6 separate regions of the Homo sapiens genome follow, and regions 1, 2, 3, 4 and 5 are each linked to region 6. The links are contacts of gene promoters, found by promoter capture Hi-C in blood cells and fetal thymus (Javierre and others, 2016). All regions are on one chromosome and are shown on one strand. The core of a region is centred on a gene start or on the middle of the fragment in contact, and the rest is flanking DNA. Distances in the headings are between cores, read along the strand shown. Region 1 holds the start of BATF3 (basic leucine zipper ATF-like transcription factor 3). Region 2 overlaps NSL1 (NSL1 component of MIS12 kinetochore complex). Region 3 overlaps DTL (denticleless E3 ubiquitin protein ligase adapter). Region 4 overlaps DTL (denticleless E3 ubiquitin protein ligase adapter). Region 5 overlaps INTS7 (integrator complex subunit 7). Region 6 holds the start of NENF (neudesin neurotrophic factor).

What was found. The method cuts DNA at HindIII sites, captures the fragments that hold promoters and counts their contacts. A CHiCAGO score of 5 or more calls a contact.
Region 1: a contact is called between the fragment with the promoter of BATF3 here and the fragment with the promoter of NENF in region 6, in 5 of 17 cell types (M1 macrophages, M2 macrophages, M0 macrophages and 2 more). The highest score is 8.8, in M1 macrophages.
Region 2: a fragment that was not itself captured here is called in contact with the fragment with the promoter of NENF in region 6 in 1 of 17 cell types (M2 macrophages); the score reaches 5.2 in M2 macrophages.
Region 3: a fragment that was not itself captured here is called in contact with the fragment with the promoter of NENF in region 6 in 2 of 17 cell types (naive CD8 T cells and activated CD4 T cells); the score reaches 6.5 in naive CD8 T cells.
Region 4: a contact is called between a fragment that was not itself captured here and the fragment with the promoter of NENF in region 6, in 1 of 17 cell types (naive B cells). The highest score is 5.9, in naive B cells.
Region 5: a fragment that was not itself captured here is called in contact with the fragment with the promoter of NENF in region 6 in 7 of 17 cell types (fetal thymus, total CD4 T cells, naive CD4 T cells and 4 more); the score reaches 7.6 in fetal thymus.

What each region holds. Positions count from the first base shown.
Region 1 is chr1:212,698,355-212,703,151 of GRCh38, reverse strand. BATF3 (basic leucine zipper ATF-like transcription factor 3) reads left to right here and starts at 3,312. Exons shown (of 3, transcript NM_018664.3): 1 at 3,312-3,479. The coding sequence starts at 3,390. RefSeq lists silencers at 3,295-3,374, 3,565-4,014. The HindIII fragment of the contact is 2,939 bases long and covers 2,067-4,797 here.
Region 2 is chr1:212,785,323-212,789,985 of GRCh38, reverse strand. NSL1 (NSL1 component of MIS12 kinetochore complex) reads left to right here. Exons shown (of 6, transcript NM_015471.4): 2 at 2,349-2,427. Among named protein-coding and RNA genes, the nearest start is that of NSL1, 4.1 kb to the left of the region's middle. The HindIII fragment of the contact is 1,742 bases long and covers 2,409-4,150 here.
Region 3 is chr1:212,079,424-212,083,966 of GRCh38, reverse strand. DTL (denticleless E3 ubiquitin protein ligase adapter) reads right to left here. Exons shown (of 15, transcript NM_016448.4): 13 at 3,217-3,352. Among named protein-coding and RNA genes, the nearest start is that of MIR3122, 4.1 kb to the right of the region's middle. RefSeq lists a cis regulatory region at 1,673 and an enhancer at 1,589-1,758. The HindIII fragment of the contact is 3,043 bases long and covers 1,285-4,327 here.
Region 4 is chr1:212,094,458-212,099,403 of GRCh38, reverse strand. All of the region lies in intron 13 of DTL (denticleless E3 ubiquitin protein ligase adapter), which reads right to left. Among named protein-coding and RNA genes, the nearest start is that of MIR3122, 19 kb to the right of the region's middle. The HindIII fragment of the contact is 1,313 bases long and covers 990-2,302 here.
Region 5 is chr1:212,015,494-212,019,820 of GRCh38, reverse strand. INTS7 (integrator complex subunit 7) reads left to right here. Exons shown (of 20, transcript NM_015434.4): 4 at 2,798-2,935. Among named protein-coding and RNA genes, the nearest start is that of INTS7, 18 kb to the left of the region's middle. The HindIII fragment of the contact is 682 bases long and covers 2,261-2,942 here.
Region 6 is chr1:212,431,273-212,435,571 of GRCh38, reverse strand. It overlaps NENF (neudesin neurotrophic factor), which reads right to left and starts at 2,652. Exons shown (of 4, transcript NM_013349.5): 1 at 2,452-2,652. The coding sequence starts at 2,628. LOC105372906 (a long non-coding RNA gene) reads left to right here and starts at 2,755. Exons shown (of 3, transcript XR_922577.4): 1 at 2,755-2,947; 2 at 3,728-3,831. RefSeq lists an enhancer at 2,057-2,146, a silencer at 2,307-2,866 and a cis regulatory region at 4,290-4,299. The HindIII fragment of the contact is 20,197 bases long and covers 1-3,219 here.

The sequences.
Region 1 (4,797 bases), core at 2,063-4,562, 270 kb before region 6:
CATCAGGGTACGTTTTCTTCCAATCTTTTCTCATATGCATACATTCGTACATACTGTTCATGTCATATATGTACTTTTTGTATCCTGATTTTTCTCACTCTACTTCAGATCAAATAAACATTCCAAGTGGCAAATTTGTCTGCATGTTTGTAATTTTTTTTTTAAGAGACAGGGTATCACTCTGTTGCTCAGACTGGAACTCAGTGGTGCAATCATGGCTCACTGCAGCCTTGCACTCCTAGGCTCAAATGATCCTCCCACTTCAGCCTCTAGAGTAGCTGGGACTACAGGTGAGAGCCACTGCATCCAGCCTGCATGCTTGTAATTTTAAAGATGCATAACATTCTATCCTGTGGCAATAACATATTCTGTTTAGCCATTCAACTATAATCGGACATTTATGTTGCTTACATTTTTCACTCTTAAAATGTTATTATGAACTTCTAGTGCATATAGTATTTTTCTCCCTAGTATTTTCAATGATGTTTCTAGGATGATTTTCTAGCAGTAGGAAAATTGAGTCAAAAGTGATGACTCTTTTATGGTTCTTGAAAGTGACAGTAAAACTGCTTTCCAGCAGGTTTGTGCCAATTTACAATGAAGCCAGTGAAACATGTGAGTACCAATTTCACCATACTCTCCCCAGCATTTGATATTACTTTTTATTTTGCTAACTTAAAAAGGGTTCTTATTTTAATATATATTTTCCTATACCTATTTTCCTTGATTATTTCTTCTGCTGGGAAATGCCATTTCATATCCCTTCTGCAATTTACCTTTGCGGGTTGTCTCAATATTCTTCTTCTTCTTTTTCGTGGGCTGTATATTAACCCTTTCTCATATGCACTGTATTTATCCAATCTGTTTGTTTTACATTCCTGGTTATACTGTCATCTAAAACAATTTAGCCCTTTTATATAGTTCAGATCTTATCAAGTCAATTTCTCCTATTACATGTATTCTTATAAGATCCTTTCCTTATCTTATCTCCACAACTTTATTTTATTTATTTGAGATAAGGTCTTGCTCTGTTGCCCTGGAGGCTGGAGTGCAGTGGTGCAATCATAGCTCATTGCAGCCTCAAACTCCTGAGCTTAAGTGATCCTCCTGCCTCAGCGTCCTGAGTAGCTGGGACTACAGGTGTGCACCACCACACTCAGCTAGTTGATTTCTTTTAATTTTTGGTAGAGTTGGGGGTCTCACTATGTTGCCTATGCTTCCATGACTTAAATAAGAATTTAATTCTGCTTTAGCTCTCTGATTTTCATTTCTGTATCTAGCTATTTAATCCATTCATTTTGATGTATGATCTTTACATCAAATTGATCTCTGCCCTAAATGCTACCTAGTTAACCAAGACTAAATGTATTTGAAGAAACCCTTGCGTAACACAAGACAGTAGACTATGCCTATATAAAGAGTTCGTGTGTGCTGGGACATGGTTTCAGGCTCCCTGGGGAGAGACAGGGAAGCAGCAGCCCCAAAGGACTTAAAATGTGATGTGGTTCAGTGAGAAAAGTGGGCATGACCAGAATAAAGTGTAGGAGTGCACGGGAATGTTCCCGAGGTGTTTCTACCTTGCCTTTTCTGTGCATAAAAAACACTGGGGAATGAAATCACTTCTGAAAATGATAACCCCTTGACCCAGATGTTTTCCTAGCTCGTTAGAGCCCTTTTAGTGCTTCAGGAATGAGAGCTTTCAGCTGACCTAGTGCAATACATATACTGAGCACCTGTTGAGTGTATGTAGCGTGCTATGCTAGGCACCTTGTGTGGGTACCTTGTGGGATGCAAAATAGTCCTGGGGCAACCACCAGTTAAGCTGAGTGATGAAATAACGGAGAGGAAAAGATTAATCCGGGCAGATAACCCAGCGTAGCGCTGGCTCTGCTGCGCAGCCTTGCTGCTGTGGAGTGTGGCGCTGCAACTCTAAAGGGCTGCGTCCACCCTCCGTCTTCCTCCCCGCCTCTCAGTTGGCCGAAGCTTCTGATCACACAGACAAGAATCTCCGCTCGCTTTCCCGCTGGCCTCCAGGCAGCCAAGTTCACTCAAGCTCTCTCAAAGCTTTTGCAAGAGTGGGTCTTAAATCCTGGCGGGGGGCACGTGCACTCATTTAAGACTTAAAAAGGAATCGGAAATGACTGTCCCCATGCCCACTGCTGCCCACAAACCTGAAGACCCAAGCGACCACACTTGGTAGGCACTTCTGCCCTTCTGGTCTGGTTCCCACCCGCCCATCCCGAATCGCGGTTATCTTTCCCGGTGCTCACAGCATGCAGACCACAGCCTGTGGCCGCTAGTGTTTCCTTCGCTAGGACCACGGGTAATTGTCTTGGCTTCGCATCTTTTGACTGGCAGGCAGGTGGACAGGGACTTGCCCTACCTCAACCCGGTCCCCAGCTTGGCACGAGCAGATAAATCTTGAAAAAGAAAAATGATCTGGGCCGTTTAACCGTGGCATGGCGGGTCCAGATCCCCAAACCTGTCACTAGTGACGTCCCACGTGGCAGATTCGCTCTCAGGGAAGCCCGTCACCGTTTTTGTCCGGGACATCCTCCCCATGCCCACCCTCCGCTCCGGGAATTCACCCTCGGGGCCGCCCCGCCTCGTTCCCTCCCACAGCCCGGCGGACCCGAGACGGGAAGGGCAGGCACTCCCTGCAGAGTCCCTGGGGCGCCCGTGGCTCGGGGTGCGCGGTGGGACTCGGTGAAGCCGGCGTCTTCACCCCAGAGCCGCGGCTTCGGGGCCGCTGGAGGAGCGAGAGTGGCGCCCGGATGACTGATCGCCGCGGAGAAAGTCCCCCGGGACTGTGACCCCCGCGCCGGGGGGCGGACGCAGGGCGTGGCTGAGGCGCAGGAAGATGCCGCGATGGGACCGGGAAAAAACACCGACCCCAAAACACCCACTGTGTTTCTCAACCTGAGTTCCCCGGCAGCCGCCGAAGGACCCCAAAGGCTGCATGGCGCCCCCCTGGTCCCCACCCCCCCGGGCGTCGCCTCGCGTGGGTGGGCTTCGCGTTCCCTCCGGGGTTTCAGAGCCACCACGTGACTTCCACGAAGCGCGGGGCGCCGGCGGAAAGCCGCGGCAGGGGTGGGATTTGGGACCCCGAGGTGCGGAGAGAGGGCGGGCAGAGGAGGAAACGAGGCGGGGGTGGGAGAAGGAGGGCGGGGCAGACGTGGGACGGGAAGGACGGCTGCCGGGACTGGCGCGCGGGGACACTGGGCCGACGCGTGGAGTAGCGGGGAGAGCGGGAAGCCTGAGGGGGCGGGGCCGGCGCGAGGCCGTGGGTGCGGCACGAGGATGCCGGCGGCGGGACAGCGCCCGTAGGCAGCCCCACGGGCAGGGCGCGCGGGCGGGGCGGGGCGGGCCGGGCCAGAGGAGCGCCCGGCATGTCGCAAGGGCTCCCGGCCGCCGGCAGCGTCCTGCAGAGGAGCGTCGCGGCGCCCGGGAACCAGCCGCAGCCGCAGCCGCAGCAGCAGGTAGAGGGCGAGAGGCTCAGGGAGGGCCGTGGGGTGCGGGGACCGGCGCGCCGCGGGGGGCGAGGAGGTGGGTGCTGGAGTTCCGTGGTGGTGACTGCGGAGGTGCAGAGGTGGCGGGTGCGGCCGGAGACAAGCAGAGGTAGGGGCGTAGGGATGTTGGGGAATGGGGGCGATCCAGGGACCCTGTCGTGCGCACAGTGTCCGCGGCTCCTGGAATGGCTCCTGAGCCAGCTCCTGCGCCCTCTGGGGGAAGAAGCCCGAGGGCGCCGACGCCTGGCTGGGCCGGGCATGGCCGGTGCTCCCCGGCACGTGGGCTCCGCACTGCCCTGAGGGCCGCCCCATCCTGGCGCAGCCAGCGACTGCCACCCCACCACCCGCGCCTGTAGCCCCTCCAGGATTCCCCCGGGTGGGGGGGGTGCTGCCGCGGGAATGGAGAACGCCGGACTAGTCAGCCTGGGCGGAGGGAACCCACAAAGGGCCGACTCCGCCCCCAGCTGGTGGAAACCCTTTGCCCCTTCCCAGTTCGCTGTCCCCTAGCAACGTTTACAGCGGCGCAGTCAGGAAGGAGACCAGGTTGGCCACAGGGACGGCCGTCTGGAAACTTTGCCTGGGTCTTGGCCACCTGCCTTACGACGAAGACTGGGTCTTTTCATCCTTACTCCCCACCTTCCCAATTCAGCGCCCGGCCCATGTCATCAGGTGTCGCTGGAGTGTCACAGAGATCTGAGTTTGGGCCTGGGCTTTGCCACACACAGGCTGAGCAGCCTTGAGCAATTTGTTTAACCTCTCGGACCGTCCATTTCCCCATCTGTAAAATGAATATAGTAACATCAACCTCTCAGGATTTTTGAGACTGAATCAGATATGGTTAATAACATAATACTATCTCTAACTTTCGCTCACCTCTTTCTGTCTTGATTAAATGTTTCTGCTGGGTTGGCAGGTGTGATCATGGTGATGAGTCCAGTTTAGAGTCAGCTCCCCGAGGGCAGTATGCAGGCTGCTTTCTTGTGCTAGTGACTTTTTGATTACAGAGAGCAAAGAGGCATGAGAAGCACTATGCAGAATACATTTTTTTTTAAAGTAGCAACTTCAACAAAGGCAGGTAACTTCTTGAGGGCATACTGTATGCTGGGAGCTTTAGGACAAAATCTCATTTCATCGCATCCCAATCCTAAGCATTAGGCTGTTAGCACCAAGTCTGCAGAGTTCACTGACCCTTTGTTTAGGGCTTGTATCCCCAGTGTCTAGAACAGTGTCTGGCACATGGTAGGTGCTCAGTTAATACATATTGAAAGAATGAATGAATTATGCTTAC
Region 2 (4,663 bases), core at 2,030-4,529, 350 kb before region 6:
GTGACTCTGTATGTAGTTTTGTATATAGTGACTCTTACGTCATTCCCTCCTTGCAAGCAAGGCAAGAATAGGGATATATCTCAGGACGTTTTTAGTAGTTTTTTGGGAGAAGACTTTTGTTGTATAATCTTAGAATTTGTCTGATTCTAGGAAATGCTAAGGTATTTAAAACATTTAGGTGTCTTACAGAAAAAGAGGAACTTGGCTTAACCTATTATATCCTATTTAGTGGGACGATAAAGTGAATTATAAGATAAAGTTTACAGGGCTTAGACTACCACAGGAATTCACTTGTGTTTTATTTTAAATAAAGCAGAAGCTTTATTTTGTATCTCTGTTTAAAACTGCATATTAAGTAGCAGATTTTCTTTAAAAACAGTATTGGTAGCAGTCTGCAATGAATGTTACAAAGACAATATGTTTTCTCAGCAATTCTTGAAAGTAATTCTAGAAAATAATTTTAAAACATACATAGGCCGGGCGCGATGGCTTACGCCTGTAATCCCAGCACTTTGGGAGGCTGAGGCGGGCGGATCACCTGAGGTCAGGAGTTCCAGACCAGCCTGGCCAACACGGTGAAACCCTGTCTATACTAAAAATACAAAAATTAGCCGGGTGTGATGGCGCTTGCCTGTAATCCCAGCTATTCGGGAGACTGAGGCAGGAGAATCGCTTGAACCTGGGAAGCGGAGGTTGCAGTGAGCCAAGATTGCGCCATTGCACTCCAGCCTGGTTGACAAGAGTGAAACTCCATCTCAAAAAAAACAAAAAACAAACAAACAAAAAATAAAATAAGGATTTTACTTTATGAAATCTTTGAAATGTAGAATATGTACTTTAACTCATAATTATCAGTAATTTGGTTTATGTTATTTTTAATTATACAAAGGGTACAAAATATATGCTCATAAAAAAATTCAAACAGTAGCATAAAGCAAAATTCTTTGAGTTCCCCTTCCCCATCCCTCTTCCTTCTAGGACATAAGGTACTATTTTGGAGAGTACTTGGGGAGAGTAAACTTTCTATACCCCCTTTCTGTGGCTTTACCTCTTTCTCTCTGTTTATGTTTGTTTGTCTCCATTAATAATGTCATGCTGATGAATTGTTATTGACCTGCCTTTTTTGAAACCAAACATGTCTATTATTTGTTAGTGTTACGTAGAGCTTGTCTTCATCCTTTTTAGGTACTGCGTGGTATGAATATTGTCTATTTAACTCTTCTAATTTTGACTTTAGGTTTTTTCCCACAATTTTAAAAATTTCAAACAGTGCTGAAATGAACATTTCTAGCACATTCTCTTTAGTTTTTATGAGAGTAGTCCTTTAGGATGCATTGCTAGAAGTGAAATTGTTGGGTAATAGGAAATGTGTACTGCCGAATTCCTTTAGTCCATCATTTAAAAAAAATTTTGATGAAGTCCAATTTGTCTATTTTTTGTTTGTTTTTGTTTTTTGTTTTTTGGTTCTTTATCTTTTAATGTATTATGAACATTTTCAACCTTACAAAAAATTAGTTTAGTACAGTGGACACCCATATATCCACCACCAAACTCAACAGTTGTCAAAATTTTGTTACAGTTGCTTCTCCCTCTGTCTCCCAGGCTGGAGTACAGTGGCAATCATAGCTCACTGTATTCTCAAACCACTGGGCTCAAGTAATCCTCTAGCCTCAGCCTTTCAAGTAGCCGGGACTACAGGCATGTGCCACTGTGCCTGGCTAATTTTTAAATTTTTTAGTAGAGAAGGTTGTCTCAGTGTGTTGCCTAGGCTGGTCTGGAACTGGCCTCAAGCAATCCTCTTGCCTTGGCTTCCCAAAGTGATGGGATTATAGGCGTGAGCCACTGCACCTGGCCTACGTTTGCTATTTTAAAGCATATCTTAGATCTCATGTCATTTCATCGCTACATAAGTGTTCATCTCTCAAAAATACAGCCCTTTATAAAATATAATTTTATTTTTAAGCATGTATGTTTTCCCTCTTGTTAACATCAACAGTCATTCAGCAGCATATATAGTACTTATACCCCTGAGATTCAACTGAGCCTAAATTTGTTAGATTTTATTTTTTCTTTCATTCTAGGAGTACTTTTTTTTGTTTGTTTATAAGAATATTCCAAAATTTTAAATCAGATTTTCTCTTGGGTAGCATAATGGCTATGAGACCCAAAATGTAGGTAGAATCAATGATTGAAGTGGAATCTTCATTGAAAAGAATAGATATACTAATTAGCTATTCTGCTACTTTTATTTCCTCTGTCACAAATCTGGAAGTATTATTTTGCTAAAACGTTTGAATTTAGTATTTAAAATTATTTTTAGTGACTTGACTACTGTGAATTTATTGCAGACTTTTGAATCAGCTGTGCAAGAGAATATCAGCATTAATGGGCAAGCATGGCAGGAAGCTTCAGATAATTGTTTTATGGGTATGTGACTTTTTCCTTCCATTATTAATTTCTGGGTTATTTTTGCAGCTAATTTTGTTTTGAATGCTGTTTTTTAATCTCCATATTTAGTGTCATTTATTTTCAAGAAGTTGTTTACTAGGGGAGTAATAAAGAACTGAGATTATGACTTCAATAGTCTTCTTTGTCAATAGTTTATTGGAAAATACTGTAGAGCTATCTCCAGATGACAAAAGAGGCCCAGGGAATTTCTGTAATTATTTACAAAGCAAGTTGTATTTTTGTAAGTGATCTCTAGAGTGAATAGTGAAGTACCCTTAAAAGTGTGAAGTTATTATTAATTATACAAGTACCGTGTAAAGGATGAGGTTACATCTTTGTAGAAGGTTCCTTAAAAAGACAATTTTTTTTTTTTTTTTGAGATGAAGTCTCACTGTCACCCAAGCTGGAGTGCAATGACACAGTCTCAGTTCACTGCAACCTCTGTCTCCCAGGTTAAAGTGATTCTTGTGCCTCAGCCTCCCTAGTTGCTGGGATTACAGGCATGTGGCCACCACGCCTGGCTAACTTGTATTTTTGGTAGAGGACAGGGTTTCATCATGTTGCCCAGGCTGGTCTCAAACTCCTAGCCTCAATCTCCTAAAGTGCTGGTATTACATATGTGAGCCACTGCTCCTGACCTTGTTCTCAACTCTTGGCTCATAGTAGGCACCTATGAAATATGTTAAATTAATGAATAATTCTTTCCTGTTCAATTTTTCTTTTCTTTCTTTTTAGACAGAGTTTCACTCTTACCTAGGCTGGAGTGCAGTGGCGCGATCTCAGCTCACTGCAACCTCCACCTCCTAGGTTCAAGCAGTTCTCATGCCTCAGCCTCCCAAGTAGCTGGAATCACAGGTGCTTGCCACCACGCCTGGCTCATTTTTGTATTTTTAACAGAGATGGGGTTTTACCATGTTGGCCAGGCTGGTCTCGAACTCTCAAACTCAGGTGATCTGCCTGCCTTGGCCTCCCAAAGTGTTGGGATTACAGGCCTGTGCCTGGCTTCTGTTCAAATTTTGTGATACATTTTAATTGTAGCTTTATCACTAGGTAGTGCTAAGAAAGCATGTTCCTCTCTACAAAAAAGATTTACCTGGGAGACTTTTCTTTTTTTTTTTTTTAACTAATTGTGAAATAGTACATTATTTTCTTCAGGCTAATTATTTAACTTTTTTAATGGATAAATGAAAATTTAGGGAGGGCTGCTTATATAAATAATTATTCAAAGTAAGAAATAACTATTATTTCTTGCCCTCAAAAGAAGGGTACTTTCACAATGTATACTACTGGGTGATGAGTGCACTAAAATCTCAGACTTCACCACTGTACTATTCATCCATGTAACCAAATACCACTTGTACCCCAAAAGCTATTGAAAATCAATCTGTGTGTGTCTCTCTCTCTATCTATCTATCTAGGAAAGAAGGAGGGAGGAAAGGAAAGAAAAGAAGGAAAGGAAGGGAGGGAGAATGAATGGGAAGGAAAGGGAAAGAAAGAAGGAAGGAAAGAAAGAGAAAAAGGAAAAAAAGGGTGCCCTCAAAAGAACTAATTTAGTGGGATTCAATTAATATTTGTGACATGAATGAAAGACTATACCTGATATACTTGATTATCTGATATGTATATACCGAAACATATCAGCAATTTCTCAAAATGTTTCAAAAATTATGTTTCAGATGTTAGATTTCTTCCTAATAAAGCTTCTGATCAATAAAATAAATAGGTCCATTTCTAGCTTAGACTTTGACACAACAGAGCAATATGAGGACCAGTTAAGCTAAGAACTTAGCTCTTTAGTATTTGTAACTACTTAGTATTTTTACTCTTTAAAATGATTTTCAAAATAAAGTTAGATGGATCACCTACATTCCTTTCATCTAGGGTGCTTCATTTCTGGGCCCCATCTCAGACTTACTGAATCAAAATTCTGTACTCCTGAAAACCAAACACCGCATGTTCTCACTCATAGGTGGGAATTGAACAATGGGAACACTTGGAAACAGGTTGGGGAACATCACACACTGGAGCCTGTTGTGGGGTCGGGGGAGTGGGGAGGGATAGCATTAGGAGATATATCTAATGTAAATGACGAGTTAATGGGTGCAGCACACCGACATGGCACATGTATACATATGTAACACACCTGCACATTGTGTACATGTACCCTAGAACTTAAAGTATTAAAAAAAAAATCTGTACTCCTAACATACTCGTT
Region 3 (4,543 bases), core at 1,557-4,056, 350 kb after region 6:
CAAGCTTAAAGATAAGACAGTTTGAAACAGTCACTGAGAGAATATAAGAGTAAATGGACAGGGAAATATGATTGTTGGCCAGTAAGAGTCAACTTGAGGCTAGCAGTAATTAATTGAAAGTGAGCATTCCACAAGGTTGTGTGTTTACCATGTAAGTACAAGTATACAGCACATCTAATGATACCCTGAGGATCCACACTGTGGGTGGCTCATTGCTTGAAGATTTTTGCTCTTGGTTCATTGTTACTCTCTTCAACATTATCTGTCAATTTATGGTGATTAAAAAATCTATGTACATGATCTTTCCAATACCTTGGTTTCTCAGTTTTTTGACCTCCTTCTTCTATAATCTTGTCCTTTCACTCTCCTAAGCCACTTATTCTTTACCTTATTATTACCAATACCTGGAAATCTTCCATTATCTTAATTTCAATCATCCCACTCATCACCACTTATTTTCCCATCTCCCTTTAGTATTTCAATTCCAACAATCTTTTATCCTCAATCCACTGCTAGTACCACATTTACACTATCCCTTGGCCCCATTATGTCCTTACTTCCCTCCTGATATGGTTTGGCTGTGTCCCCACCTGAATCTCATCTTGAATTCCCATGTGTTGTGGGAGGGACCTGGTGGGAGGTAATTGAATAATGGGGGCAGGTCTTTCCCATGCTGTTCTCGTGACAGCAAATAAGTCTCATGAGATCTGACAATATTATAAGGGGGAGTTTCTCTGCCCAATCTCTCTCTTTGCCTGCCGCCATCCATGTAAAATGTGACTTGCTCCTCCTTGCCTTCTGCCATGATTGTGAGGCCTTTCCAGTCATGTGGAACTGTAAGTCATTAAACCTCTTTCTTTTGTAAATTGCCAAGTCTTGTACATGTCTTTATCAGCAGTGTGAAAATGGACTAATATGCCTCCTTACCAAGGTTATATCTTATAGTCATAATCATCCTCTTTGCATCCACTGTCAACTTCCTTCTTCACTTGCATTGCTAAACCACATCCCTGGTTAAATCTAGCTCTCTACCTATAGTATACTTGTACTTGCATAGCAAACACACAACCATGTGGAGTGCTCACTTTCAATTAATTATTGCTAGCCTCAAGTTGACTCTTGAAGCCCAACAATCATATTTTCCTGTCCATTTATTCCTCTATTCTCTCAGTGACAATTTCAGACTTTCTTATCTCTTCTAAAATCTCTACTCCCTTTCTCCCTTATCCTCATTCGCAGTTAATAACCCTGATTCATGTTTTAACATCAGAACAGAAGGAAGCTTCTGTAAGTTATGGCCATCTCATCTCTCCACCTCTCTCCCCACCATCTCTCAGTAGCCTACCTGCACCATGCTTATATATTCCACCTTTTCTCCAATTACTATGGGTCAACTATCCATGTTCCTGGCAAAGGCCTACCCTCCTACTGTGTATCAGATAGTATCCCCTCATGCTTAACATTGCTCCAGCAAATTCCCCTGCATCAATCTCCCCCTCTCTATACGATCCTGCCAATCACTGTGAAATGTTATATTCCTATTTAAAAAAACCCCAGCAAACTTCAACCCTGCTTCTTTCTCCAGCTACCACTTCACTTCTCTTCTTTCCTTTATAACAAAACTCCTTGAAAGAACTGTCTATACTTGTAGTCCCCAAGTCATATACATGAATGACACCAATCAGGCCACCATCATACCACCAAAACAACACTCATTAAGGTCACCAAATAACCCCTATGATTGCCTAATCCATTGGTCAGTTTTTAGGCCTCACCTTATTTGGTATACCAGAAACATCAAATCAAGTTCATCCCTCTCTCCTCTTATTTACTTGGCTTCCAGGATGTAACACTCTCCCAGTTTTTCTCTTACTTCTCTGGTTGTGGCTGCTCAGTAGGCTTTAATGGTATTTGTCACCTCCTCAACCTCTAAACATCGGGGTACCCCAAGACACCAGGCCTATTTTTTTCTATCTATAGCTATCTTCACCCTGTGTGATAATGAACCTCACATCTGCAACTTCAACCCTGAACTGCAGAATTAAACATCGAAATGCCTCCCTGACATGTCCATTTGGGTGTTTAATAATCATATCAAACAACATGTCCAAATGGAACTCCAGCTGTTCCCTCCCAAACTTGCTCTTCCTGCAGGGATATTTATCTAGGTTAATGACACTCCATCTTTTCAGCTTCTTAAGCAAAATCTCTGAAGTTATCCTTGATAACTCTCCCATATAGCCCCACATCTGATCCCTCAACATATTCTGTTGGCTCTGTCTTGTAAATATATCCAAAATTGGATGACTTCTCACCATAGCTTCTGCTACTACTCTGGTCTAAGTCACCATCATCACTTCCTGGATTATCTCAATGGCTTTTTAAAAGTAGCTTTTTGCTTTTACCCTGACCCCCTTACAATTTATCCTCAACACAGGAGCAAGAATGATCAAGTTAAAAGTCAAATTATGATACTCTTCTGCTCCAAACCCTCTGGTGGACTTTTGTCTATCAAAATAAAAGCCAAAGTCTCACAGAATTTCATTTTCTACTACTATTCCCTCCCTTTCCTTTGCCTGCTGCAGCCCTAGGGGCCAGCCATGCTAGCCTCTCTGAGGAAGAGAAAATATGCCAAGCATGCTCCTGCTTTAGGGCCTGTGTACTTTTATCTGCCTGGAATATTCTTCTTTAAAATATCTATATGGCTTACTACTTCACTTTCTTTACTCAAATGCCATCTTTTCATTGAGGCCCCCCTGGTCACCTAATATAAAATTTTGATAGCATATTTCACCCTTGCCCTTCTCCCTTTCCTATTTCCTTTATTCCTAAGCCCTTATTGTTATTTGACACAGTATATATTTTACTTTTTTATCTTGTTTATTGCCTCTCACACTAATATGTTAGCTCTATTTACATCTTCAGGATTTTTTATTCTTTTGTTCATTGCTGAATCCCTAGCAACTAAGAACAGGGCCCAGCACATACTGGGTGTTCAAGAAATATTTGTTGAATAAATCCACCACTGTAGTACCTTGTGTAAATGATAAACATAGTAGTGCTTGGGAAATACTTATCAAAAAGAATGAATGGCAAGAAGATAGTGCTTTTCTTTAAAAACATACCAAAGCAAGATCAAATCTAGCTTATTACTCTGTACTGTCGGACTAAACTAGTCAAACCATAAAAAACTTGGAAAGTATATGATATCCTTACCTAGGCCAGGTCTTGACTCTTTTTTCTTCTGAGAGGCCCAACCCACCGTGGAAAGTTTATCACCTCCTGGTTTCTCCTCTAAGCCTCTATTCAAGCGCCAGATTTTTAGTGTATTGTCATCAGAACAGGTAGCAATCTAAGAGGGAGTACCAAGAAGGGAATTAAGAAATTTCAATCAAGATTCAAAATACATTAAAAAACAGGTGTGTCTTAAGGCCTTGTGACTGGATAATTATTTTGTCTAATAAACAGGATATAGAAAATAATATCTTAAAGATCATGTACATCCATTTCTTGCTTTCAGGAATCATTCCAGATTTCCAACAAAGCTGACTCTTTAGTTTATTCTTCATATACATTCTACTAGTATGTCTTTTGTTACTGGTCATTTCTTATCTAATCTAAAGTTCTGGCTCTTTATCATCTTCTGTATAAATACAAAATATGTAGTTAAGACACTCTTTTTACTCTTCTGTTAAATGATCAATCAGTATATGTTACCAACATTCAATTTCTACAACTTTCTTCTGAATTCTGCATGTTGTGCCACATTGCTAAAGTAATGGCACCATTTGCAAGATCAGACTTGGCCCATGACTCTAGTAGGCTGTGACAAGTAGAAGGAAACCATTCCTTTTGAGATTCTTTTTCAGATAGGTAGAGGAGCAATCTGGGAAAACAACAAGTTCCCTAGGCTGAAAGAAGTTAAAAAATAACCTTTGTCCCTTTAAAAATATCTGACTATTCTAGATCTTGGTCCCAAGCCTTTTATGGCAGAGAAAGTCCAGCTTGAAGAGCTTGTGGCAAATGGCCACTGGTACCAGAGCTGTTCCCCAGCATTTGTTTATATAATTTCTCTATTTCAGTCACTAAAGAGAAAGAAAAAAAGAATACATGTTCTCTTAAGTCTTGGCCCCCAAGAGACTGGCAGCTTTTTCCTTTCCTTACTGGGAGGCCAAAAGAAGATACACATATTTAACTGTTCAATATGAAATGTTTGGAATCTCACAGTTCTTCTATAGTTTATTAACAATAGTTATTTGCAGAGCACCTACTATGTGTCTGGTAGTTTACATTCTTTATCTTATTTAATTCTCACACTCTAAAAGCTTTGTACTCAAATAATCTCATATGCAAAATGGGAATAAAGTTATTTGCCCAAAGTAACCACAATCAAATGGAAGAGCTAGAATTTAAACCCAGCTTTCTCCTATTCCAAATGCCAGACATTAAAAACACAAAAACAACACAAACCATATTTTACTTTCCTAATTCTAGGCTTGGGATGAAATTATTTTTAAGACTTAAAAAAGTAGCCAATAAATTA
Region 4 (4,946 bases), core at 397-2,896, 340 kb after region 6:
AAATTAGCCAGGCATGGTGGTGTGCACCTGTAGTCCCAGCTACTCAGGAGGCTGAGGCAGAAGAGTTGCTTGAACCTGGGAGGTGGAAGTTGCAGTGAGCCAAGATCGCATGCACTGCACTCCAGCCTGCCTGACAGCGAGACTCCGTTTCAAAACAAACAAACAAACAAACAAACAAACAAAAAACAGTGTGAGAGGGGTAAAGTCCACTTCTGCACACATCCTCACTGAGGATCCAGATCATGGGAGAAGGAGAACTGAAATGAATTTAGAGAGCCAAACAAAATATAAAAGTAGAAGCAGCAGCAGGAAGAGCCCTGTAGGCACTCCTGGTCCCCAGGGAAACCATTTCTGACTATCTCACAGGGGTCTTTGGAGAGGGCAGCCAATGGAATTGGGGAAGGACCATAGGGAGAAGGAGACTTTCAGCTGAACTTTGTAATGATTTCAACTGAGCGTGAATTTTCCTGGGCAGAATCTGCAGGGGGATGGGACAAATAGGAAGTGCAGATATGAGCACAGAAGCTGTGGCAGGCAGATGGACAAGGCCTAACAGCCCTGCTTGCTTTCTCGGCGGGGAGTTTTGTAGTCTAGGGCAAGATCTCCACCCTGTGCACTGGAGGCATGGATATAAATTTGGTTCTGTTGGCTGTTGGGGAAGCACTGCAGGAGTGAGACTGGCCTTGCTGGCTGTGGTCTGTCACTGCCGGCTTTCCCCTATTTCCCTGGTGATGTGTATGAAGCAGCAGAGGCAGCCATAATCTCCCTTAGAACGTAACTCCATTGGCCTGTTAACCACCACTCCCATCGCCCAGAGGCCACAGCAAGCCCTGCCCAAGGAGTCTGAGCTCAGACACACTATCCCTGCCCCCACCAGATGGTCTTTCTCTAACCGCCCTGGTAGCCGTAAACAAAAGACAAAAACTCGTGGGGCCCTGCTCATTGCCTGAGAAGCCCGAAAACCTATCCAGGAAACCGTAAGGCAAGCTTATATCCCCCGCTATACTACTGCAGTTGATACTCTCTTGAAAGTGCCACCTCCTGGCTGGAGGCCAACCAATTCAAGCCATTACAGCAATTCAACAGAACAACCCTGCTCCAAGAAAGCAGAAAATAACAGCTAATTCTACTGCCTGTAACATCTTGGCCAACCAGAGAGGTCCTGAGTCTGTCCATGTAATAACTTCAGTGCTAGTATAACTAGCATTCAAGACAACCAGTACACTAAATAAAACTACAACCAAGTACTCTCACACAGTCCACTTCACTCCTTTCCTACCACCTCCATTAGAGCAGGTGCTAGTATCCATGGCATACAGACCTGAAGACAGATCACATCACAGGACTCTTAGCAGACACTCTCCAGTACCAGCCTAGAACCCAGTAGCTCTGCTGGGTGGCTCGACCCAGAAGAGCAATAACAATCACTGCAGTCCAGCTCTCAGAAAGCCCCACCCCTAGGGAAGGGGGAGAGCACCACACCAAGGGATCACTCTGTGGGACAAAAGAATTTAAACAGCACACATTGAGTCCCAGATCTTTCTTCTGACATAGTCCACCCAAACGAGAAGGAACCAGAAAAACAATTCAGGTAATATGACAAAACAAGGTTCTATAACCACCCCTAAAAGATTATACTAGCTTACCAGCAATGGATCCAAACCAATAATAAATCTTTGAATTGCCAGAAAAGAATTTAGAAGGTCAATTATTAAGCTACTCAAGGAAGCACCAGAGAAAGATGAAAACCAACTTAAATTTAAAAATAAAACAAAACAGGATGTAGACGAAAAAAATCTCCAGAGAAATAGATATCATAAATAAAAAACAATCATGACTTCTGGAAATGAAAGACACATTTAGAGAAATGCAAAATACACTGGAAAGTTTTAACAATAGAACCAAACAAGTAGAAGAAAGAATTTTGGAGCTCAAAGACAAGGCTCTTGAATTAACCCAATTCAACAAAGACAAAGGCAAAAGAATAAAAACTTCTCTGGCCTTGCTCGAGATCTAGACATCCAAATACAAGAAGCTCAAAGAACACCCAGGAAATTCATCACAAAAAGATCATCACCTAGACACACAGTCATCAGGCTATCTAAAGTCAAGATGAAGGAAAAAATCTTAAGAGCTGGGAGGCAAAAGCATCAGGTAACCTGTAAAGGAAAAACCTATCAGATTAACAGCAGATACTCTACAAGCTAGAGGGGATAAAGGTCTTATCTTTAGCCTTATTAAATAATTATTAGCTGACAAAATAATTATCAGCCAAGAATTTTGTATCCAGTGAAACTAAGCTTCATAAATGAAGAAAAGATGAAAGTCTTTTTCAAACGCTGAGAGAATTTGCCACTACCAAGCCAGCATAGTTTACAAAAACTGCTAAAAGGAGTTCTAAATCTTAGAGCAAAACCTTGAAATACACAAAAATAGAATCTCATCTCATAGTGGGGGACTTCAATACAGTAAGTCAACATAGAAACAATGGACTTATACCCTAGAACAAATGGACTTAACAGGTATTTACAGAACATTCTACCCAACAACTGCAGAATATACATTCTATTCATCAGAACATTCATGGAACATTCTCCAAGATAGAGACCATATGATAGGCCACAAAACAAGTCTCAATAAATTTAAGAAAATCAAAATTATATCAAGTACTCTCTCAGACCATAGTGGAATAAAATTGGAAGTCAACTCCAAAGGGAATTCTTAGAACCATGCAACATTAAATAATCCGCTCCTGAATGATCTTTGGGTCAATAATGAAATCAAAATCAAGCTGGAAATTAAAAAAATTCTTTGAACTGAATGAAAAAAGTGACACAACCTAACAAAACCTCTAAGATACAGCAAAAGCAGTGCTAAGAGGAAAGTTCACAGCATTAAGTGCCTACATCAAAAAGTCTGAAAGAGCACAAATTGACAATCTAAGGTCACACCTCAAGAACTAGAGAAATAAGAACAAACCAAACCCAAACCCAGGAGGAGGAAAGATATAACAAAGACCAGAGTAGAACTTAATAAAAATGAAACAACAACAACAAAATACAAAAGATAAATGAAACAAAAAGCTGGTTCTTTGAAAAGATAAACAAAATTGATAGCCCATTAGTGAGATTAACCAAGAAAAGAAGAGAGAAGATCCAAATAAGTTCAATTAGAAATGAAACAGGAAATATTAACAACGAATACCACAGAAATACAAAAGATCATTCAAGGCTACTATGAACACATTTGTGCTCACAAACTAGAAAACCTAGAGGAGATGGATAAATTCCTGGAAATATACAACCTCCTAGATTAAACCAGGAAGAAATAAGAACTCTGAACAGACCAATAACAAGCACTTAGATTGAAATGGTAATAAAAAAATTGCCAAGAAGAAAAAGTCCAGGACCAGATGGATTCACTGCTGAATTCTATCAGACATTCAAAGAAGAACTGGTACCAATCTTACTGAAACCATTCCAAAAGAGAAAGAGGGAATACTCCCTAAATCATCCTATGAAGCCAGTATCACTCTAATACCAAAACCAGGAAAGGACATGACAAAAAAGAAAACTACAGACCAATATCCCTGATGAACATAGATGCAAAAATCCTCAACAAAATACTAGCTAACCAAATCCAACAGTATATCAAAAAGATAATCTACCATGATCAAATGGATTTCAAACCAGGGATGCAGGGAAAGTTTAATATACACAAGTCAATACATGTGATACACCATATAAACAGAATTAAAAACAAAAATCAGGCCGGGTGCGGTGGCTCATGCCTGTAATCCCAGCACTTTGGGAGGCCGAGGAGGGCAGATCACTTGAGGTCAGGAGTTTGAGACCAGCCTGGCCAACATGGTGAAACCCCATCTAAAAATACAAAAATTAGCCAGATGTGGTATCTCAGCTACTTGGGAGGCTGAGGCAGGAGAATCCCTTGAACCTGGGTGGTGGAGGTTGCAGTGAGCTGAGATGGTACCACTGCACCCCAGCCTGGGCAACAAGAGCGAAACTCTAAGAGAAAAACAAACGAAAACACATGATCACTTCAATAGAAGCAGAAAAAACGTCTGACAAAATCCAGCATCCCTTTATGATGAAAACACTCAGCAAAATCAGCATAGAAGGAACATACTTGAAGGTAATAAAAGCCATCCATGACAAACCCACAGCCAACGTTATACTGAACGGGGAAAAGTTGAAAGCATTCCCCATGAGAACTGGAAAAAGACAAGGATGCCCACTTTCACCACTTCTATTCAACATAGTAGTGGAAGCCCTAGCCAGCCACAGTCAGTCAGAAAAGAGAAATTAAAAGGCATCCAAATTGGTAAAGAGGAAGTCAACCTGTCACTGTTAGTAAATGATATGATTGTATACCTAGAAAACCCTAAAAACTCATCCAAAAAGCTCCTAGATCTGATAAATGAATTCTGTTAGGTTTCAGGATACAAAATCAATGTACATAAATCAGTAGTACTGCTATACAGCAACAGCAAACAAGCTGCAAATCAAATCAACAACTCAACCCCTTTTACAATAGCTGCAAAACCTAGGAATATACCTAACTAAGGAAGTAAAAGACCTCTACAAGGAAAACTACAAAACACTGCTAAAAGAAATCAGATGACACAAACAAATGGAAAAACACAACCTACGCTCAAGGATGGGTAGAATCAATGCTGTGAAAATAACTATACTGCTAAAAGCAATCTACAAATTCAATGCAATTCCCATCAAAATACCATCATCGTTCTTCACAGAACTAGAAAAAACAATCTGAAAAGTCATATGGAACCAAAAAACAGCCCACATAGCCAAAGCAAGACTAAGCAAAAAGAACAAATCTGCAGGCATCACATTACCTGACTTCAAACTACACTACAAGGCTATAGTCACTCAAATAGCACGGTACTCGTATAAAAATAGGCACAT
Region 5 (4,327 bases), core at 1,352-3,851, 420 kb after region 6:
TTGAACTTCGTGTTCCTGCCCTTGTACTTAATGTTTTCTGTCAGTTTTCTATATTCTTCCTTGATTATGTGATCATTTTTAATGTGATAAATCATATTTGATTTCATTGGAGAACATCAGATATAACCACTATAGTTTCTTTAGCTTTTTCTTTTCTTTCTTGGCATATTTAAAAAAATTTATTTGTTAGAATTTCATTTTGTAAGCCTTATATCCAGCTTGAACCATATTCTCTTTTTAGCTCTGCCATTTATAGTATCATATCTATAACTTTTTATATCTTTTGAAATTCACTTTCCTAAATTATAGTGTTCATTTCTGACCTAGCCTGCCCAGACAGTCTTCTTTTTAACCAGGAAGTTTGGGATGTCACATCTTCCCTGAGTGTCGTTTTTTCCATATCAGGAATCAGTTCTTCCTTCTTGTTCAGAATTTAGTGCTTTTGTCATTTCTTTGCCTTTTGAGTGATTAAATTGTGAGTAATATGTGATATTTTAAAGTCAGTTCATTGATTTTCATCTTTTGAAAGCTATATTCAATCGAATTAATTAATTAATTAATTTATTTATTGAGATGGAGTCTTGCTCTGTCACCCAGGCTGGAGGGCAGTGGCGTGATCTTGGCTCACTGCAACCTCTGTCTCCTGGGTTCAGGCAATTCTCCTGCCTCAGCCTCCCGAGTAGCTGGGATTGTAGGTGCCCGCCACCACACTCAACTATCTTTTTTTACTTTTAGTAGAGACAGCATTTCACCATGTTGGCCAGGCTGGTCTCGAACTCCTGACCTCAGGTGATCTGCCCGCTTCGGCCTCCCATATTGTTGGGATTACAGGCGTGAGCCACTGCACCTGTCCCAGAATTTAAATTTAAGGTATTTTTACCCTTTACTTCAGCAAATATACCTATAGGAATTTTTTAAATGAATCATTTTTAAAAGTTGGTGAATATATGTATATAGATGATTATAGTATCATTTTTGTAGAATGAAAAATTGGGGAAAAATCGACATGGGAATAGCTATTGGTGAACTACTGTATAACTTTTAAAGAGTAAAGTGAGTTGTGAGTCTATATATACTGACATAGAAAGATATTGTTTTAAAAAGTAGTCAAATAGTATCCATTTTGTTAACTCATTTTGCTAGTTGATATTAATATATATGTTTATATAGGCTCAGAAAAAAATCTAGAGGAATATATACTGTTAACAGTGATTATTTTTGGTAGAGTCTTTGGGTTGTAGATTACAAGAGGCTTTTCCATTTGGCTTTTTTTGGTAATGTTTGAATTGGTTTTCACAAACATGGTTTTTTTTTTTTAATCAAAAGATAATAGAAAAGAATAGAATTTAACTGGTGGAATGAATTTCATAAATAATTTAGAGCTAGCCTGAATATTTTGATAAGAATGTAGATTAATATTTGAATGTTAATCATTTTCCATGCTTGCCCTTCTCTAAGTCATGGCAATTGACTTTTGCCTCAATTCTTTTTTTAAGCACTGTGGTTATCAATAAAGCCAGCGATCTCTAGAAAGCTTCCAAAAAGAAGGATCACTTTAAAGGAAAAAAAAATTAGATTGAAATCAGATTTTTCTACAGTAACACTTGATGCAATAAGTATTAAAGGAAAATTGAGCCAAGAATTTTATATCTAATCCAGTTTTCATTTAAAAGAGTAGTAAAATAAAAAGATTCTCAGGCACACAAGGCCTTAGGAGGTTTGCCATATAGGACCTGTTTTGTAAACATTCTAGAAGGAGGTACTCAAGTAGGAAGAGAAAAATTAAGCCGGAAGCAGTGGGAATAAGTCATTAAATGTGTCAGTATTAGCCTAGTCTAATCTTTTCTGGTATAATAGATTAATAGTCATTTGTTATTTCTTTTGAAAGATGTATAATTCCAAAACCTTCAAATTAAATATAAATTACATATTTAGTCCATTTTAGTTTCTTGCTACTAACAGTATTACTTATTTTTAACAGTACTAGGAACAGTACTACTTTGAGTGTAATTACAGGGAATAATTAGGTGATTACATGTCACATTGGAAGGTTATTTAGGATGTTGACTTTGAAGAAGGTTGTCATTGTAGGAACATTGTAGGTTTTGTTTACTGCAGTGTTTTGCAAATTTCTAAAATGTATGCCTTTCTGCTGAAAGGATTTTTCAAACTACTTTCTGTAGTTTATACCACAAACAATAGATTTTTTTCCTTTCTAAATGTATGATTTTATTATAAAGTAGACTGTGTTTTCCAAGCTTTACCTTCTGCACCGTTGTTGATTCTGGTGTGAGCCCCAGGGGCGTCCTCAACCACTGCTTTCTTGATCTTGAGGACATTTGAAAATCATCATACCAATATTTACTGATGTGGGAAAAAAAGATTGGGAGCTCTTACTTTTTTTTACTTTGTGTATCTGCTTAACAGCAAAAATGTTGTATTCTTAATGCTTTGCTGAAATGGACTTCTTTATGCAACATTGGAAAATTGATATTTTGATGCTTTAATAATTCAGAAGTTTCCTTCCTGGGCTGTTTGGTACCTGGGAGGTACTTCAAGGTGATTGTTAAAAATTTTGCTTTTTAGATAAGCCATTTTAATTTTTCTGACATATTGAAATATGTAAAAGCGTTTAAAATTTGAGTCATGGATTTCTAAAGTTATGCTTTATTAACTGGAGTTACATAGAATTACCTATAAACTTTAGTTTTGATAATCTGACTTTGCCTTGCCTCTTACTTTTCTGACCTTGACTTTATTTTATGCCCGATCTTCTTGGGTTTCTCTGTTTCTGTAGGATGTTGGGAAGTCTGGCATCAATAATTCCTGAGAGGAAGAATGCTCATCATAGTATTCGTCAGAGTTTAGATTCACATGATAATGTAGAAGTTGAAGCTGCTGTTTTTGCTGCTGCAAACTTCTCTGCACAGTCAAAGTAAGCTTACAAAAGTACATCCCTTTTAGTAATTTGGCTTCCCAAGAAAAATTTTTGAAGGAAAAACTGATCAACTTATATAAACACTGAGAGATACAGGAAAGTGTAAATTACAAGGTGTGTTTTCCAAGAAGGTTTACCTTATGTTGGGGAAACAAGACTTAAATTCATAAAATGGAAAATGTAAGTACAAATGTTGGCATTAATTGTGTAAATGAAATGAGTTTCCAGAAGGACAGGATCAGCATAGATTAGTTGGAGAAGGCTTCATTGGGTAGCAGAAGCTTTGTTGACTGAGGAGCTTCTCCCAGACATATAGATCTGTAATACTAAATTGCTTACTTACTGTCTTCTAATGTTAATTTGTTTTGCATTAGAGCTGTCCACAGTTTGGCAAAGACAATAACTTGAATTAAAACCAATTTTAACCTATTCAGAATGTCATGTCCTACACTGTTGTTTTACAGAACAGTATTTTGTTTTGGGCAGGAGGATTAAATGTTGACCATGGTTTTATTACTATGTTTGATTGGCTTCTCTTCTGTAAAAGAAAATACAGTATCTCCCTGACTGACAGGAAAAGTAGCATTGCCTTCTGGGGTGCATTTTGGTAATATGTATGAAAAGCCTTAAACAAGTACATCCCTTTGACCCAGGAAATTCACTTCTAGAATTTATCCTAAGATAACAGCAATATGTACTGATAATTATTTGTATGGATGCTGGTTGTAGTGTTACTTGTAACAACAAAAGAAATGAGAAGCAACCTAAATTTCTTCCATTGAGCTTAGATAAATTATGATCATACAATAGAATACGGTAACAACTTAAAACCAATGTTTTTAGAAACATATTTGGAAGCAGGTTACATAATAGGTTATGTAATATAACAGGTTTGTTTTAAAAAACCCCAATAGCTTATATAATGTAACAGATTTGTTTAAAAAAAATAAAAGCCGTAATATTTGTATTTATGCAATAGAAAAAAAGACTAGAAGGATATATATCAAAATCTTGGTAAGATGGTATATAATTTTTATTTTCTTTTTATAAATTTCTCTATATCTCTATATCTTGGCATGAGCAAGTTCCAGTTTTATAACCAGGTGAATAATAAATTTTTTGAATCCTGAAAAGTTAACTTTTTTTTTTTTTTTTTTTTTTTTTTTTTTTTTAGTATTTATTGATCATTCTTGGGTGTTTCTCGGAGAGAGGGATTTGGCAGGGTCATAGGACAATAGTGGAGGGAAGGTCAGCAGATAAACATGTGAACAAGGGTCTGTGGTTTTCCTAGGCAGAGGACCCTGCGGCCTTCCTCAGTGTTTGTGTCCCTGGGTACTTGAGATTAGGGAGTGGTGATGACTCTTAACGAGTATGCTGCCTTCAAGCATC
Region 6 (4,299 bases), core at 1,403-3,902:
TGTCTCAAAAAAAAAAAAAAAAAAGGAAAAAAACTGTAGTTTTGGGGGTAGTCAAAAGTTATACATGGCTGGGTGCACACCTGTAATACTAGCGGCTTGGGAGGCTGCGGCAGGAGGATCGCTTGGGCCCAGGATTGCCAGGCTCTAGTGCACCATGACTGCCTGTGAAAAGCCACTCACTCCATTCTGGGCGACACAGCAAGACCCTGCCTCTAAAAGAAAAAAAAGTTATATGCAGACTTTTGACTGCATGGGGGTCAGTACCCCGAACTCCTGTGTTGCTCAAGGATCAACTGTATAGATATAGATATCCAAATGGTTCTGTTCCCTGGTGAAACCTGGACTAATCCAAGTATCTTACGAACAAAGTGGAGACTCAGAGAGGTTTAGTAATTTGCCCCAAATCACACAGCAGAACAGGGACTCAAAACCAGGTATGATCCAATGTATTATACAAATTGTCACACTTCTGAGTGAAAGGGTGTTATTAATAATTATCCCTGGATAACAGGCATAGACCAGAACAATCTAGGTCAAACAACAGCGCAGCACAGCTTGAACCCACTGCACTCAACTGCCTCTCTCGTCCCTCGCTCCCCTCCTCTCTCTGGCTCCTTCCTTCCACCTACAGAGATCCTCAGGCTCCACTCCCAAAACAATTGTTTCCTACCCCTGTTTCCATCTCAAGGTCCTCTCTCTCTCAGTTAAATTTCAATCTATAACATCAACATCAAAAAACCAAGGGTCTTTTCTCAGTCCTCATCTTGCAGTTCTGGCACTCTTGCTGTAACCTCAGTGGTGAACTCTCTCTTTCCTTAGATTCTTGTGCCAGTGGTCCCAAAGATCATCGGGTCAGTTGGAGAGTCCCTAGAAGGAAGATTCCAAGAACCCAGCATATAGTTCTACTCACAGCTGGGAAGGAAAAACACAGAGGGAGAATCTAGGGGAATCTATGTGCAGGTTTCCTATGCTCTCTCCCTCCCATGAGGAAGAGCACACTCTTCCCCCAGCAACAAAACTTGACAGTATGTGCCATTCTTCTGGCAGAACATTCCTCTGCTAGAGATGCCCATTAGACTCAGCACCCAAGGTTTTCACTGGGGGCTGGTCACATGGGGCACCCTCTGCCTAGCATATACAGTGTTCAATACTAACCACACCATCTGTATATACGGCCTAGGCAAGTGAGTCCACCGTTATTGGGTAGGGAAGGGTGAGAAATCCAGACACTAGACAAGTCCCACCCTTGCAAGTAGGCTTTTCTAAGGAGAGCAGGCCTGCCATGTTAATTCTTTTCTGCACGGATGCCTGGACTCTGAACCATCTGGTTCCCTCTGCTACCGGCAAAAAGGCATCCCTTAACATCCTCACATCCCAGCCATGTCTCCCTCCCTCGGTGTCCTCACTGACTCATGGTTCTAAATGGCCCCTTCACAAATGATGCCCAAACTGGCATCACTGACTAAGGGCCAGGTTTCTGATACCCCCATGCAATCCTAGTCCATATAAGGCCAATTAACTCAGGAATTAGCGAGACCAGGCCAGAGGGTTTTGAAAAACATCAGGCCTCTTCCTGCTCTACCACTAACAGGTGGCAGGCCTCAGTTTCCTTATGTGTAAAAGCAGGAGATGGGTTCCTGCCAGCTCTGAAATACTATGGTACTATGACCTCCCCCCAATGCCGTTCCCCCGCTCCACATCTAATATCAGCCCCCTGTTGGTCCTTGTCGTGCGGCTCCAGTCCCAACCAACCCAGGTGGGCAGGTGGTTGTGAGTTTTCTGGACGCCTCTAGACTATTGACGTGTGTGGGTGTGTGTGGGCGGGGGGGTCTCTATTGACGTGTGGCGGGGGGGTTGTGGGGGTCTCTAACCTCCAGTCCACCCTCTGCGCTCACTTCCAGCTTTGGCTGAGCCCCAGGGGTACATGACCTAAAAGTGGGTTTGAGGAGTCCGATGCAGAGGCCTGGGATACAGGGGCAGGAAAAGGAAGTGCAGGCAAAGACTGGCTTATCCCAGGACCTGTCTCAATTCCCACCTAACCCAGGGAGCAGGCTCTGCTTCCCTCCCTCCGTCCCCCGCCACTCCCCACTATGCGTGGGCACAGTAAACGCCTCGGCTGATGCTAACATGAAAACCAAAAAGTTCTGAGGTCTGTACGCAGATCATCAACGAAAAGGCGGCTAGAGGGGAAATCTCCCGGGGACCGAGGGAGAAGTTCAGGGTGGGGTGTGCGGGCAAAGCGGAGCGCTCCGACTGTTGAGGACTCGTCCTCACCCCTCGGCCATCCTTCGGGGCCTAGAGAGAGGAGGCCCCCCGCCGGCCCAGGGCGCCCGCCGCGGGCCGCGCGTCCCCCAGAGCTTCCTGGGCCGCCGGCGCCTCCTGGGTCCCCGCTCGGCTCGCCGCAGATCGGACGCCACCCCGGGTCCCTCGGCCCGCGACACCCCCGCCTACCTCCTCCCCGCCATAGCGGGCCAGCTCCTCCTCGGTGAAAAGCCGCACTGGGGGCCCCCGCTCGGCAGGGCGCGGTGTCTGCCCGGCCCGGGCTGTGGGCAGCCCCGGGGCCAGCGCCAGGACCAGGGCCAGCGCTGCCAGCGGCCGCAGCCGCCGCCGCGGCGCGGGGCCCACCATGGTGAGCGCGCAGCGCAAGGCAAGGCCGGGCCAGGGCGGCGGGGCCCTAGCACGCCCGCCCAGCGTCCCGGAGTCCCGCCCCGCGCCCAGAGCCTCCCCGAGGGCGGGGACCCGAGAACTCCCGCCCTTCGCGCGCCTCCTGCGCCCCGGGGTGGGGCTGGCCGGGCTACTCGGGCCACGCAGCTGGAACCTGGAAATTAGGATTGGAATCCTGAACTCCTAAATCCAAACTACAGACTGGAAGTTACCAAAAAATGTCACAGTGGTTCCTTGATCAGGTAGAAAGATGACAGAGCCCAACATACCAGAACCTAGAAAGGTATATTTCTAAAATAAGACCCCAACTGTCTTAATTCGCTTTTATTTTTGGCTGATTTTTTTTCTTCCTGGTTGTGTTTAAGTTTCTGGTTCCCAAGGAGATTTTTGCAAAGGGTAGGGTGCTGTTACCGATACGCCCTGAAATAATAATAGCTAACATTTGTGCCAAACTTTGCTCATTACTTTATGCAACAAATATTTTTGAGTACCTCCATGTACCAGGTCACTGGGGACTCACCACTGAACAAGACAGATCCACGCCCACGTGAAGCTTACATTGTGTGGGCAGATAGACAATAAGATGCTAAGTAGTATGTTAGATGGTGGTAAATACTAGGGAGAAAAAGTAGGGCAAAGAGATAGGGAGCACTGGGATGGACATTTTATTTTATTTTATTGTTATGTATTTATTTATTTTTGAGACGGAGTCTGTCGCCTACGCTGGAGTGCAGTGGCGCCATCTCGGCCCACTGCAACCTCCACCTTCCGGGTTCAAGTGATTCTCCTGCCTCAGCCACCAGAGTAGTTGGGATTACAGGCACCCACCACCACGCCTGGCTAATTTTTTTTTTTTTTAATTTTTAGTCGAGATGAGGTTTCACTATATGCTGGCCAGGCTGGTCTCGAACTCCTGGCCTCAAGTGAACCATCCACCTCATCCACCCAAAGTGCTGGGATTACAGGTGTGAGGAACGGTGCCCGGTTATGGGGATGGTCATTTTAAATAGGCAGGTTAGGGAAGGCCTCACTGAGAACAGGGTATTTGCATAAAAATCTACAGGAGGCGAAGGAGGCGGTCTAGAGGGAAGAGCACTTTGGTCAAAGGATCAGGTGCATAAATGCGGAGGAATGAGGATGCCCGGCTTGCTGGAGGATCAAGGGAAGGTAAGAGGGGTAGGTGAAGTCAGGAAGGAAGCGGGTAAGGGAGTGGGGGTGGATCTTGGGGGCTTCACAGGTTATTTTCAAGACTGGCTTTTACTTTCAAGACTGGAATAGAGGAATTAACAGAAAAAGGGTCTCATTCCAGACCCAAGAGCAGGTTCTTAGACGTCCACGGCAAAGAATCAGGGCAAGTCGCAGAGCATAGTAGTTAAAATAGTTCATTAGAAACTACTCCATTTCTAATAATAGTACTACTGTGTTTCTGAGTAGTATCCTTGCTTTGAAGTAGTACTAAGCAAGTATTGTTTATATAGGAGCACCTCTGCCTTCAATGTAATGCTTGCTTTTATAGGGCTAAAACTAGCGTACTTCATTACAAAAGCCTATGATCAGCTTGTTACAGACTATTAGTATTGTTATTCTCTTGTGTAACTATTGACTTCAGGGAGAATTTATGGGTGTACTGTTATC